2 separate regions of the Homo sapiens genome follow, and region 2 is linked to region 1. The links are contacts of gene promoters, found by promoter capture Hi-C in human tissues and cell types (Jung and others, 2019). All regions are on one chromosome and are shown on one strand. The core of a region is centred on a gene start or on the middle of the fragment in contact, and the rest is flanking DNA. Distances in the headings are between cores, read along the strand shown.

Region 1 (5,834 bases), core at 1,238-3,737:
GTGCTGAGGCATATTGGAAACTGGGCCTCACATTTCTTCACTAGGAATTGAGTTTTCTCAAGGATTAAGCTTTTGTGCTTAAAGAGAAAAGTGCAAAATCTTTGGGAGGAAAAAAGGAAAACAACGACCTGTCAAATTTCTTTTAGCGCCTATGACTAGTGTTAACTGACATGCTCTCAGAGTGCAATAAAAAGCCTGCAAACTGCTGCTAAAAAGATGGTTTGACCTTTTAAAATGGGAACTCCCCCACCCCATATCCATATTAAATAGACGAACCTTGGGAGCTCTAGAGTTTTAGATTAATAAGTGAAATGAGGTTGAATTTCCAGAAAAAGGGTTTCCCTGTAGGCTGCAGACTGGCTAATTAGGGTGTTCTAGACCTACATTGTAACAGCAGGTAGAAGGCAGGCCCTAAACCTTTTAGCTATTGTCGTTGCCACCTGCTCAGAGTCTAGTTCTGAAAGGAGGCGGGTGCGGAGTTATGAAAATTTGGTAAATATAAAAGTCCCGGACGCGACCGCCCGTAGCCTGCGGCCCCTGGCGGTTGAGGAGCCGCGGCGATCCTTGGTCTTCACCGCAGCAGCCAAGCCCGGCGCGCACCAACCGGCGCTGCTGAAAGTTGGAGAGCTCCCAGCTCGCCGATAGAATTCGGCGGTGGGCGCCAGGGGAATCCCTTCCAGTGCCGCAATTAGGAAAGTTTTAAAAAGTAAGGACCCTAGACAGACAAGAGATCCATCCTTTCCTTTAGCATAAGAAACACCCCGCGCCGCGCCAGCCGAACGCTGCTCGCACAAGGCTATCCGCCCTTCTTGGCCGGGACGCACTCGGTGCCTTCCAGCTCCCCACCAGAACTGGTCCAGGGGGCGCGGAAACAGAGAGGCAACTGTGTCCGGCTTGTGGTTCCAGACGGAAACGCCTCCGGGCTCCCTGGCCCGGGGGACAAGGGTTCGAAACTTCAACAGTCGCGAGGGCAAGGACAGAACTACCAACTCCCGCTCGGATGCCCGGGACCTGCTCTTCCAAGCCCGCTCCGGTTTCTCCAAAGGACGCGCGGCACAGCCCATGCGCCCCCGGCACTCCACTCCACTCCTCTATGGTTTCCCCCAAACTCTTCCCGGGGAGCCCCACAAAGCACAGACGGCGCCCTGAAACTCGCCAGGCACTCGCCAGCCATCCCCACCTCCGCCTCTCGAACCCTCCTTGTCGCGTTCTTCCCGCCCCGCACCTTTCTCCTCGCGTTTCTGGGAAGTCAGAAGCAAACCACGAGAAAATGCCTTCGCAAGGAGCCTCCCTACACCCGCCCTGTCACTGAAACAAAAGCGTAGGGAGGAGGGAGGTGGGAGAGGAGGCGGGAGGAAGGTTTAGAAAGACGATGGGGACAGCAGTAGGAAGGAGCTGGGGAGGGGGGTCAAGGTGGCAAGCAGAGCTGGGGGCCCAGAGTCCGCTCCCGTGCCGCGCGGCGAGTCGCTTACATGCCCAGGTCGCTGTAGGTGTTGAAGAACTCCATCTGATTGCACGCCTGAATCCAGCCCACCACCCAGGTCTCGTGGCGGGGGATGGGGGGCATGACCACGCGGGCGGAGGCTTTGAAGTAGGGGGTCTTGTAGCGCAGGACGATGGGCGAGGTCTCCTCGATGCGCGTGGGGCACTGGTCGATGGTGGCGCACACATCGTACACCACGATGTTCTCGCGCCGGATCCGCGCCTTGCAGGTGATGCTTTGGATACAGCCCATCCTGCAGCCCGGTGCCGGCACGGCGCGGCGTGGGGCAGCGCGGGGGCCCGCGCGGGCAGCCGGGGGCGCCCGTCACGCCGGCATGGCGACGCGCCGCTCGCTCCCGGTCAGACTCAGCTCGCACCTAGGAGCGGGGAGCCGCCGGGCATCCTTGGGGAAGCCCCCTCCTCTTGCAGCCGCGCGGGGTCCCCGCTGCCCCGACGTCCGCCCACGCCCGCCCCCTCGCTCCGGCAGGGCGCGCGGAGGGTGCACTCCTAGGAGGCGGCGGGTGCCCTCGCCGGCTCCAGCGCCCGGGCGGAGGGCAGGGAGGGGAGCGGCGCTGCGAGGAATGGTGCCCACCCCGGGCCGGAGCCCCCCGCCCCTCGCCGGAGAGGAGGAGGCGGCAGCGGCGGCGGCATGGAGCCGGGGGAGGGCGGCGGTGGCAGCGCCCGGTCTGTCTGCCTCCGCGGCGGCAGCAGCAGCAGCCGCCGCCGCCGCCGCCGCTGCATGAACCTCTGCACCACGGCTGCCCCCCGCGTGCAGCGCACCCAGCGGCGGGCGAGCGGGCGGCCCAAGAGGCAGGCGGAGGCAGCAGCGGCGGCGGCGGCGACCGGAGCTCCCGCCGGCCCCGCCCCGTAGCCGGACCACACCGACACTCCTCGGCCCGGCTGCCTCGGCCCGGGGGGCGCCAGGAGGCTGTGGCCCGGGGTGGAGAGCCCCAACGGCTGGAGCAGCACAGGACGTGCTCCGCGGAGGAAACTGGCTGTACGCCATGAGTTTTGTCCCTATTCGGCTGCCGTCCGGGTGGGGGGGGGGTAATGTGTAAGGGTGGGGGTGTTTAAAGGGCCGCTAGCGCCGGGGTGGGGCCCCGCACGTGGGGCTGAGGCGGGGCGGGGCCCTGGTAGGTGGTGCCCTGGGGTGGGGGTGGGGGACTAGGGCGGGCCCAAGCGCCACCGGGTGGGTGAGGCCGAGCAGGGCGCGGCGCTGTCCAGAGTCCAGTGGGGAACCCGGTAGCCCAGTAGGGGCTGTAGAGTGAGTGTTTCGGGCAGCAGAAGGGTTAGGGGAACAGCTTTATCAGAGATTGGTCGTTATTCAGAATATAGCTTGTTGGATTAGATTTAGGCTTGAGCCCTTTTAGTATCCTACCTTCAGAAAGGGTGAAGGGCGGGCTCCAGCAGCGTTACTAAATGCAGTGTATTTGCCTCTTTGCCTGACTGGGTTTGTTCTGGAAGCTCTTCTTTCCACCACTGTGTGTAGTGGGGATACCGGAAGAATCCCTCCGTACTCCAGCACTAAGTCTCTCATATGCCAGAGTTTTGGCAGACATTGGGCATTGTGTACAGTATGACCACGGTCATGTGTCTGATACTGCAGTCTAATGTGCCAAACAGGAAGAATATTTAGCAGATGCTTTTACTAGGCATCTTCTTACATTTTTATTTTCAAAGCCAATAGCTTCTAAGTATTTCTTCTGCGATCATTGAACATTTGCTGGATCTGCTGCCCAAGTGTGAAATACTGACTAACAGGCCGCAGGAGGTGCTAGAGTTAGTCTTTAGCTAGGACAGGTGTGACGAGTAATTTAAAAATTGATTGAGATCTAAAAGCACTCTTCATCCTTGTTTTAACTGTTCTGACACCTTGGTTCACTTTATAGTTAACAAAAAAGCAGTTTTTCCCTTTGATGACTCGTCTCTCTCATTTTACCGTGTAGCCACAGACCTCAATCACTGGTCCTTTCATTCAGCAAAGGCTGACTGCCTGCCTGGCAGGAGCCAAACATAGTGCTAGGTACTAGGGATTCAAAGTTGAAAAAGAGCACATGGATCACTGGAGAAAATAAACCTGTTAACAAGTTATTATAGTAAACTGTGACACCTGCTTTAGTGGGGTTGTGTATCCAGTGCCGTGGAAGGCCAGACATGTAAATCTCTGGCCACATGTAAATCCCTCAGTGGTCAGAGAGCCACTCAGTGGCTCTCTGGCCACTGAGAGATTTACGTGTGACTTTGCTCAAGTAGTGACATTTAAATTGAATACTGACAGACTGTAGAGTCTCACTGAAAAGAGAAAGGTGAATGAGTAGTACAGGACCAGCATTTGGCAAATGCAAAATGCATAGAGATATGAAAGAACTCATCCTGTACTGAGGGGGAGAAACAACTCACAGTCAAGGCATTTCTCAAGGTGTTATGTGTCGACCATGGGCATCAGAATCACTGTCCAAGAATCAATTGGTTGTTGATAGACCATATCTTTTTTCTTTTTAAAATTAAGACTACAGACTTTATTTTGATTTTACTAGTTTTTCCACTAATGTCTTTTTTTCTCTAGAATCTAATCCAAGATATGATGTTGCATTTAGTCATTACATCTCCTTATTCTTCTCAATCTGTGACAGCTTCTCAGTCTTTCTCTGTTTTTCATGACCTTGACATTTTTAAAGAGGACTGGTCAGATATTCTGTAGAATTGTTCCTCATTTGCATTTATCTGATGTTTCCTCATGATTAGACCAGGGTTTTGGATTTGGGGGATGAATACCATGAAGATGAAGTGCCTTCTCATTGCATTATGTCAGGGGTACATGATAGCAATATGACTTTTTACTGGTGTTATTAACCTTGATCACTGGGTTTGGTGAATAATTTTTTTAACTTTTAGGTTCAGAGGTACAGGTGCAGGTTTGTTATATAGGTAAATTGCATGTCATAGGGGTTTGTTGGACAGATTATTTTATCACCCTGGTAATGAGGATAGTACCCAATAGGTATTTTTTTTTTATCCTCTGCCTCCTCCTACCCTTCACCCTCTAGTAGGGCCCAGTGTCTTCTCTTGATAGGACCTTATCTTAAACTTCAGTGGAAGCCAATGAAGGCAAGCCATGCATTTTGAGAAAAATTACTCTGCATCCATATAGAGAATAGAGGAGGCAGCGTTTCAGAATATTGTGATGACAGATACTTTGACCCTCGGCTAGCTTGGGGCAGTGCTGTGGGGCTGGAGAGGCCTGGCTGCATTTGCATTTAAGAATCACTTAGGAGGTAAATGTATTTACTTGGTAACTGAACAAGGTGATAGAAGGGGAAGCAGCTTGGGACTGTGGGTGATGTCATGTTAAGTTCGAGGTTCTTGGAGGTATTTGGGGGGCAGGGTGGGGTCAGAGTTTGAGTTTCAGTGGTTATTAGGTTCCAGGCAATAGACCAAAAGGAAAGCATTTCATTGGGGAATGTAGTTATGTTTCTTAATTTGAGTTGCTTGTCAGGCTGCAGTTTTGTGGATAAATAACTCCTTTGTCTTCTGGTGACACATGTTAAACCTTCATAAACGGGGAGGGGAATGGCAGCCTTTCCCAAAATATAGGGAAATCACATAAGGAAGAATATCTTATTTTTCAAACTTAAAATAAGATTTTGTTATATTTAGTAAAGCCAATAAAATGTAACATTATTCATGGACTTGGACCCTTGACATTCTCAGAGGGTTCATCCATGACCTTGGTGAGTCTCCAAAATCATGAATGTCATCATGGCATATAATTTCCACCATAAAGTACGGTAAAGTGTAGCTGAAAAATGTAAAGAATCTTTTTAGACTCTTAATGGTTCTATGAATATGGGGCCAAAGTAATTTCTAAAGCTACTTAAATAAATTTTGCCATTAAAATAAACTTCTTACTTCATTACCTTATATCTTTACCTTATTAACGCCCTATTTCCCTGACTCTGTGAAGAAAAAATTGATCACAGTATGAGAATTATTGTGCGGATGTCGATGAGAAAGTAAGGAGAGCTAAGTGGTACTGGGACACAAATGCCAGTGTTAGGAGTGGTCATTCACTAGCTGAGTGGCTGGCAAGTACACTCTGGCCTCCTGGCAGCCCCATTCAAATTTGTGTCTCAGCAAATTACCTCATGACAGGGACCTTTTGGATTACTCACTGGGGGTTTTTATCATTCATGCATATTCAGTCTGCAAATGCCAATGCAGGGCTATCTGTAGCTCAAATGAAATCCCCAGAATTTGCAACAGTTTCTCTGTGCTGCTCTTCTAAGTTTCTCTTTCTGTCTCCTCATGGTAAGTCCCTTGCTTCTATTAACACCTTTAAAGCTGTTTCACAG
Region 2 (6,196 bases), core at 1,291-3,790, 310 kb after region 1:
GACACAGCCAAACCATATCAGGAGCTCACCACCAGTACTCAGCTGAGACAAGAGCTGGGAAAAAAATGCACTGGCCAGAGCACAGCTGCTTAGGACACTAGGGGATCTGTACAGGAATTCCCCAGAAGGAAGCATGGGTGGGTGGGCACCTTGAAATATGGCAGCAGGTTACAGGAAGTGCTTCTAGTTAGATGCCAAGCTATTCTGTGCTTTGCCTCTGAACTTGCTCATATTGCCTCTATTTTTGAAATTGTACATAGATAAATCCCCAAAGGAATCATATTTGTTCAATGCTTAGCTGTCTTCCTAGCATTTTACTAAGCTTTTTACTTTCAATGTGGTCCTTACAAAAAGTAGATAGAGCCAGTATTACTGCAACCCCATTTTCCTGACAGCTCACTGAAGAACAGTCACTTGTTCAGAGAATGCAAGTCCCAAATAGTGAAGCTAGGCCAAGTACATGGGCAGACAGAAGAAGGAAAGCCCAGCATCTACCAATCTTTGACCATCAACACTTAGAAGTAAATGACCTGCTTCAGTGACTTCTCATACTCCATCACTTTCCAAATAACATGTAAAACCCATAGCTCCTGCAGCATTTGAGGATATATGCCAAGCACTTTTAAAAACAGTTTTATTTTGAATTGATAAACAATTATTCTATACATATTTGGGTCACAATATGATGTTTCAATACACTCATAAATTGTGGAATGATCAAATCAGGCGAATAAGTGTGTCTATCACCTCAAATATTTATCATTTCTTTGTGGTGAGAACATTTAAAATCATATTCTTTAGTTATTTTGAAATATATAATACATTGACCTTGTGAAATACATCTGTTTCTGGGTAAGCTTTAAAGTTTTTTATAATTATTATTATTTTGACCTTTGAGCGCAAAGCTGATGAGGGCAATTGTCACCTTTCTCCAGAAATGGGCACATAAATACAATATTTTTCATGAAATTTCAGAAGATTAAATCTCCTGGTTTAGAAATACTGCTCACTGATTTAGAGGCAATAGTGTGTTTATTTGCAAAAGCTTATTCCCTATATAGCGGTCTTTTGTGAATATGTGTGTATATCAACAATACAACTTTCTCACTTGGCATTTTCTTTGCAGAAAGGCAGAGTATTGTTAAAATTCCCTTTTCGGAGCCATCTCTTTCTGGATTAAATGAGTTAGTGCAGATAGAATACTTAGATTGGTGGCTTTCCTAAGGTAAACACTAACCATTAACAGTCATTATCCTCATTTCTCTACACTCATGGAACCTTAAATTTGGAAAGGCTATGCCATATCTCTCTAGAAATTCATTTTTTCTGATAGATGGATATCTAGTCCCTGCTTGATTACTTCCCACAACAGGTTGCTTACAACCTCACAGGAAAATCTAATTTAGTGTTAGACAGCATTTGATGACTCTGTGGCATAATCCCCAAAACAACAACTGTTGAACATGTATGTGTCCGTACATTTATCCATCTCTCATGTGTCAGTTTATCCCTATGTTCTTCTATTTGAAAGACTTAAAATCAAGGGTGTATTGGCATATATATCTGCTTCGTAAGCTATATTACCAAGGGAAAAAAGGTCAAGCATCAGCTATAAAGAAAAAAAATAACTTATTTATTACACATCACTCAATTTTCACAAAAATTGTGAAAGAACTTTAAATGAGATGGTAAATCTCACCAAAGATTTTTACACATAGGAAGATCTAAAAAAAAATGATTACTCAGAATTCACTTTTCTTGAAATCTGTGAAGTAAACAGCATGATCTCTGTTGGTTCCAATCCAGTCCTCTGGTTTCAGAAGGAGGTAGAAGGAGCTGGCATGTGACACCCATATTTGTCCTTTGGTTCTCAGATAAAGATGTGCAGTATGAGGAAGCATCCTGGTTTCTCTTGCACTGGCCAATGGAACATTGTGGTGAGGCTGAGGGGAAGCAAAGGTCATCTGTCTCTGGCACAGTTATGGGCTGCAGTGGTCATCAGACTGACCCTCATTTACCTAGGTATGTAACTTTCCTATCTTGGGGAATCCTAATGGTGGAGGGATGATTTATGCAAAGCAAAGGAAATGCCTCTCCTTTATAACAGTCTGTGGTTAAGTAAAACAAATTTAAAATTATCTTGACAATGTCAAACAATAAGTCACTAACCCAAATAAATAACCCCTTTTAGAAGAAAACCTGACTTCTGTAGAGATTTCAGTTTTATAAAGGAAAAAGCCTGTTAGAATCAGAATGTCCAAGCCCAAACCAAAAATAGCACTTACTTTTCAACAAAGGTATCTATCTGTTTTACCCCCCTCTAAGTGTTGTCAGACTACACTTAAAGGATTATGTTCTGTTCTCATTTTAAATTTATTTTTAAAAATTTATTTATTTATTTTTTATTGTACTCTTTGAAGTGTTTCACTTTGAAGGAATGGTGACAAAAGGGAACTTCATTAAAGGAGAACAATAAGAATATTAAAGAGATAAATGCAGCTTGGTGAACATTTAAAAACCACTAAAGTTATTTAACCTGAGAGGGACATTCACTGGGGGAGGAGGACACTCACGGAGGGAGGAAGAGGAGCAGGATAGCTGTGTTTGACCACAACTCACCATCATATAAAAGATGGAGTCAACACGATGTGTGTTCTTGTTGAGCAAAACAAGTAGTGGATAGAGGCTCCAGGAAGGTCGACTTGGATCTAAATAAGAAGGGATTTCCAACAAGAAGTAATGATCTAAAATGAAACGGTCTGCCTTGTGAAGTAGTAGATTTCCTAATTAAGGAAATATTTAAGCAGAAACTAATGATCATTAATGAGGAGTTTATAGATCAATGGTTCTCAAACTTTAGTATGGCAAGAATCACCCAAAGTCCTTGTTAAATCAGATTATTAGTTCCAACTCCCCAAAATTCCAATTCAACATGTGTGGAGTGGGTCCTCTGAATTGAATTTGCCTTTGCCTAAGTTCTCTGGTGCTGCTGCTGCTGCTACTGCCGGTCTGTGGGTTAATTTTGCATAGCAAGTCTCTGCTAATATATGATGTAAAATTGGACCAGATGGACTCATTTTCCAATTTTGAGAGTCCATGATGATAATGATAGAAAAAACATAGTATGCTGTATGGATTTGGGTATTACCAAAATGAACTTGCTCTGTGAAAATGTATATAAAATAACTTCATGTGTTTACTATGGTAAATAAGATTTCTGTTAGTATCAGTTAATGTTGGTGTAACATAGAGCAGTGGTCTCCAATCTTTTTGGCACCAGGGAAGAGTTTTGTGGAAGACAATTTTTCCACAGAGTGGGGTGGGGTGGGGATGATTTGGGGAAGATTCAAATGCATTACACTTATTGTGCACTCTATTTCTATTATTATTACATTGTAATATATAATGAAATGATTATCCAATTCACCATCATGTAGAATCAGTGGGAGCCCTGAGCTTGTTTTCCTGAAACTAGATGGTCCCATCTCAAGGGATAGGAGACAGTAACAGATCATTAGATATTAGATTCTCATAAGGAGCATGCAACCTAGATCCTTCACATGTGCAGTCCACAATAGCGTTTGCACTCCTGTGAGAATCCAATGCCACCACTGATCTGACAGGAGGCAAAACTCAGGCAGTAATGCAAGCAATGGGCAGTGGCTGCAAATACAGATGAAGCTTTGCTTGCTAGTCCACCGCTCACCTCCTGCTGTGCAGCCCAGTTCCTAACAGGCCACAGACCAGTACCAGTCCATGGCCCACGGATTATGGATCTCTGACACAGAAGGACCAGTAGTAAAAGAAGTTGAACATGGTACTATATATAAATTCTAGTTATAAAATGGGTTTACTGTTAGACTGCACAAATGCAATGCAAAAGCTAAAGTAACCTTTGCATTTCTTGAATCTAAACAATTATTTTCCATTTATTTTCCTTAAATAGAGATTGAGAAATTCAAAGGCAAATATTTCCACAGTGAGAAATATAAAATTTAGAGGGATTTATGGGAAACAGAATCCTCATGACTGGCATTGGAAATTCTGGCTCTGATCTGGCTGTGGTGCTCAGCCACACTGCAAAGCAAGCCTATTTTCTTACAGCTGCATCTTGTTGTTGTGGTAATCCTCCACCTGCATGGAGAGGCACAAAGTATAGGATAACCAAGATTCAGGGGTTATTTTTATGGCTTCCCACTGAAAACACCTTATCTACACACAAGAGACAACAAAGGATTAAGTGTGTTGGCTGGGCCAAATGGATTCCCAGTAATCAGATCAGAAATATTCAGGTCGTTTGCTCTCTGCCAAGATCTCTACTAGTTAACACAGATATATTGTAGATGATTACATGGTTATTAAAAAAAATTACATTATAGGACTCCAGGCATTTGTGATCCCATTTATGGTTAAAAAAAAAAAAACCTATATATCTATGGTTATATGTGCATATGCAATTTCAAAAAAGATTCAAGTAACCGTTAACAGTGGCTTCCTCTGGGCATAAAGAATGGATATGCATGTGTGTGGCGGGGGGGTGAGGGGGTTATATATATTTTGTTAACAGATCGAGAGTGAGATTACAATACTTAACTAGTGAAACAAAATATTCAGCAACTTTGATAATTAATTCAGACCATCACTCTGCTACTCCTAATGACAAGGTTTAGAAATATAGCTACAACTGGCAAAGAAGATTTGGGGAGATTTAGAGTGATCTAGATAGGCGGTTTAAATACTGCAAATTTTCCAAACTGTTATTTGACAATGCACTGACTTTGAAGTCTCTGAACAATCTGTGAACAGTAGTTGTGTTCATTTAATGTGGTTAACAAGGGGTAGATAGATCAGCTGTTGGCTATGTGCTAAACAATTTCACAATAATTAATTTGTACCAGGGGAGCTAAGACACCAAGGTAATTTACCTAAACCAAGGGTCAGTTTTGTCAATGTGCAAGTCCGCCCTCTGCTGGCCATTCTGGGAAAATCACAGCTATTTTATAGCAACTGTAGTTATCTCTGATGGTCCAGATCATTCTTTCAAGAGTACTTATTATTCACCTACTGTGTGCCAGGTACATTATCATACATGATACAAGTGTCTGTTGTATGATTCTCTTTACTTTTTTGCATGTGTAAAATATTTTATCACTAAAAATATCCAATGTAAAGAGCAAAAAAAGTCTGAAAAATACGACAAATAAAACAATATTATTTTAAAGAAATTCTGATAGTAGTTCTTTGAGCCAATTAAATGAGGTTAAATTCCTGTAATCAATAAAATATTATAGCATCTTAAAGCTTGGCATTGCTGAAGAAATTATTTAGTTCAACCCCCATATTTTACAGCCAAGAAAACTGAGGGTCCAAGACATTAATAGTTAGTGTAAAGGAAGGCAGGAAATTACTTAAAAGGCTCGTACTAAAATCGACATCTCCTTCCTAGAAGATTTGCTTACATTTCAACCTAAGAATAAAAGAAATAATCAACTTTTTTTTTCTTTTTACAGATGTAAGCAATGATCACTGACTTGACAAAGGAAATGCATAGGGATTAATTTAAATGGTTTGTGTAGAGATATTTATTTAGGGTTCATTCACACAGAAGCAAATTGCTTAAGCATGAAATTGGATGAGGATACTAGAGAGTGAATTGAGAAGTAAAAGTGAGGGAAGCTGATCCCAGCCCTTTGCAAATTTAAGATTTAGGATCCCCAGCTTGGAAATGGTTATGCTAATTAAGGACTGAAGACTGGCAGAGTTTAGAAGATCAAGAAGGTGAGAGAGCCCAGGAGCACCAGGCACTGCTGGGGTTTAGATAGGTAAAGGACAAAGTACTTGATCTTGTGAAGCCTATAGATTAGCAGGAAAAGTACATAGTCACACCACCAAAGATTGTAAAGTGTTAGTTTTCCAAGTCTTTTTTTTTTGAGACGGAGTCTCTCTGTTGCCCAGGCTGGAGTGCAGTGGCGTGATCTCAGCTCCGCTCACTGCAAGCTCCGCCTCCCGGGTTCACGCCATTCTCCTGCCTCAGCCTCCCGAGTAGCTGGGACTACAGGCACCCGCCACCACTCAGTATTTATTGGCCCTTACTTTACAGATAATTCTAACCATGGGTTGTCTGGTTTGACAGGCCAGAACCACAAGTGAGAAGGGAAATACTGCTGGCTGCAGATTCAGTGACAAGAGCTATAAT

What was found. The method cuts DNA at HindIII sites, captures the fragments that hold promoters and counts their contacts. A contact is called where the count stands out against the background at its distance.
Region 2: a contact is called between a fragment that was not itself captured here and the fragment with the promoter of FAM78B in region 1, in 3 of the 25 tissues and cell types used here (heart right ventricle, mesendoderm cells and thymus).

What each region holds. Positions count from the first base shown.
Region 1 is chr1:166,164,514-166,170,347 of GRCh38, forward strand. FAM78B (family with sequence similarity 78 member B) reads right to left here and starts at 2,488. Exons shown (of 2, transcript NM_001017961.5): 1 at 1,473-2,488. The coding sequence starts at 1,735. LOC112268276 (a long non-coding RNA gene) reads left to right here and starts at 1,364. Exons shown (of 3, transcript XR_002958633.2): 1 at 1,364-1,541. RefSeq lists enhancers at 1,355-2,257, 1,429-1,598, 1,699-1,748, 5,663-5,742 and silencers at 2,139-2,198, 2,239-2,728, 4,763-4,822. The HindIII fragment of the contact is 7,560 bases long and covers 1-5,834 here.
Region 2 is chr1:166,474,262-166,480,457 of GRCh38, forward strand. It overlaps LINC01675 (long intergenic non-protein coding RNA 1675), which reads right to left. Exons shown (of 3, transcript NR_146890.1): 2 at 2,620-2,708; 3 at 1,511-1,943. It also overlaps the pseudogene FMO7P. Among named protein-coding and RNA genes, the nearest start is that of LINC01675, 13 kb to the right of the region's middle. The HindIII fragment of the contact is 3,902 bases long and covers 590-4,491 here.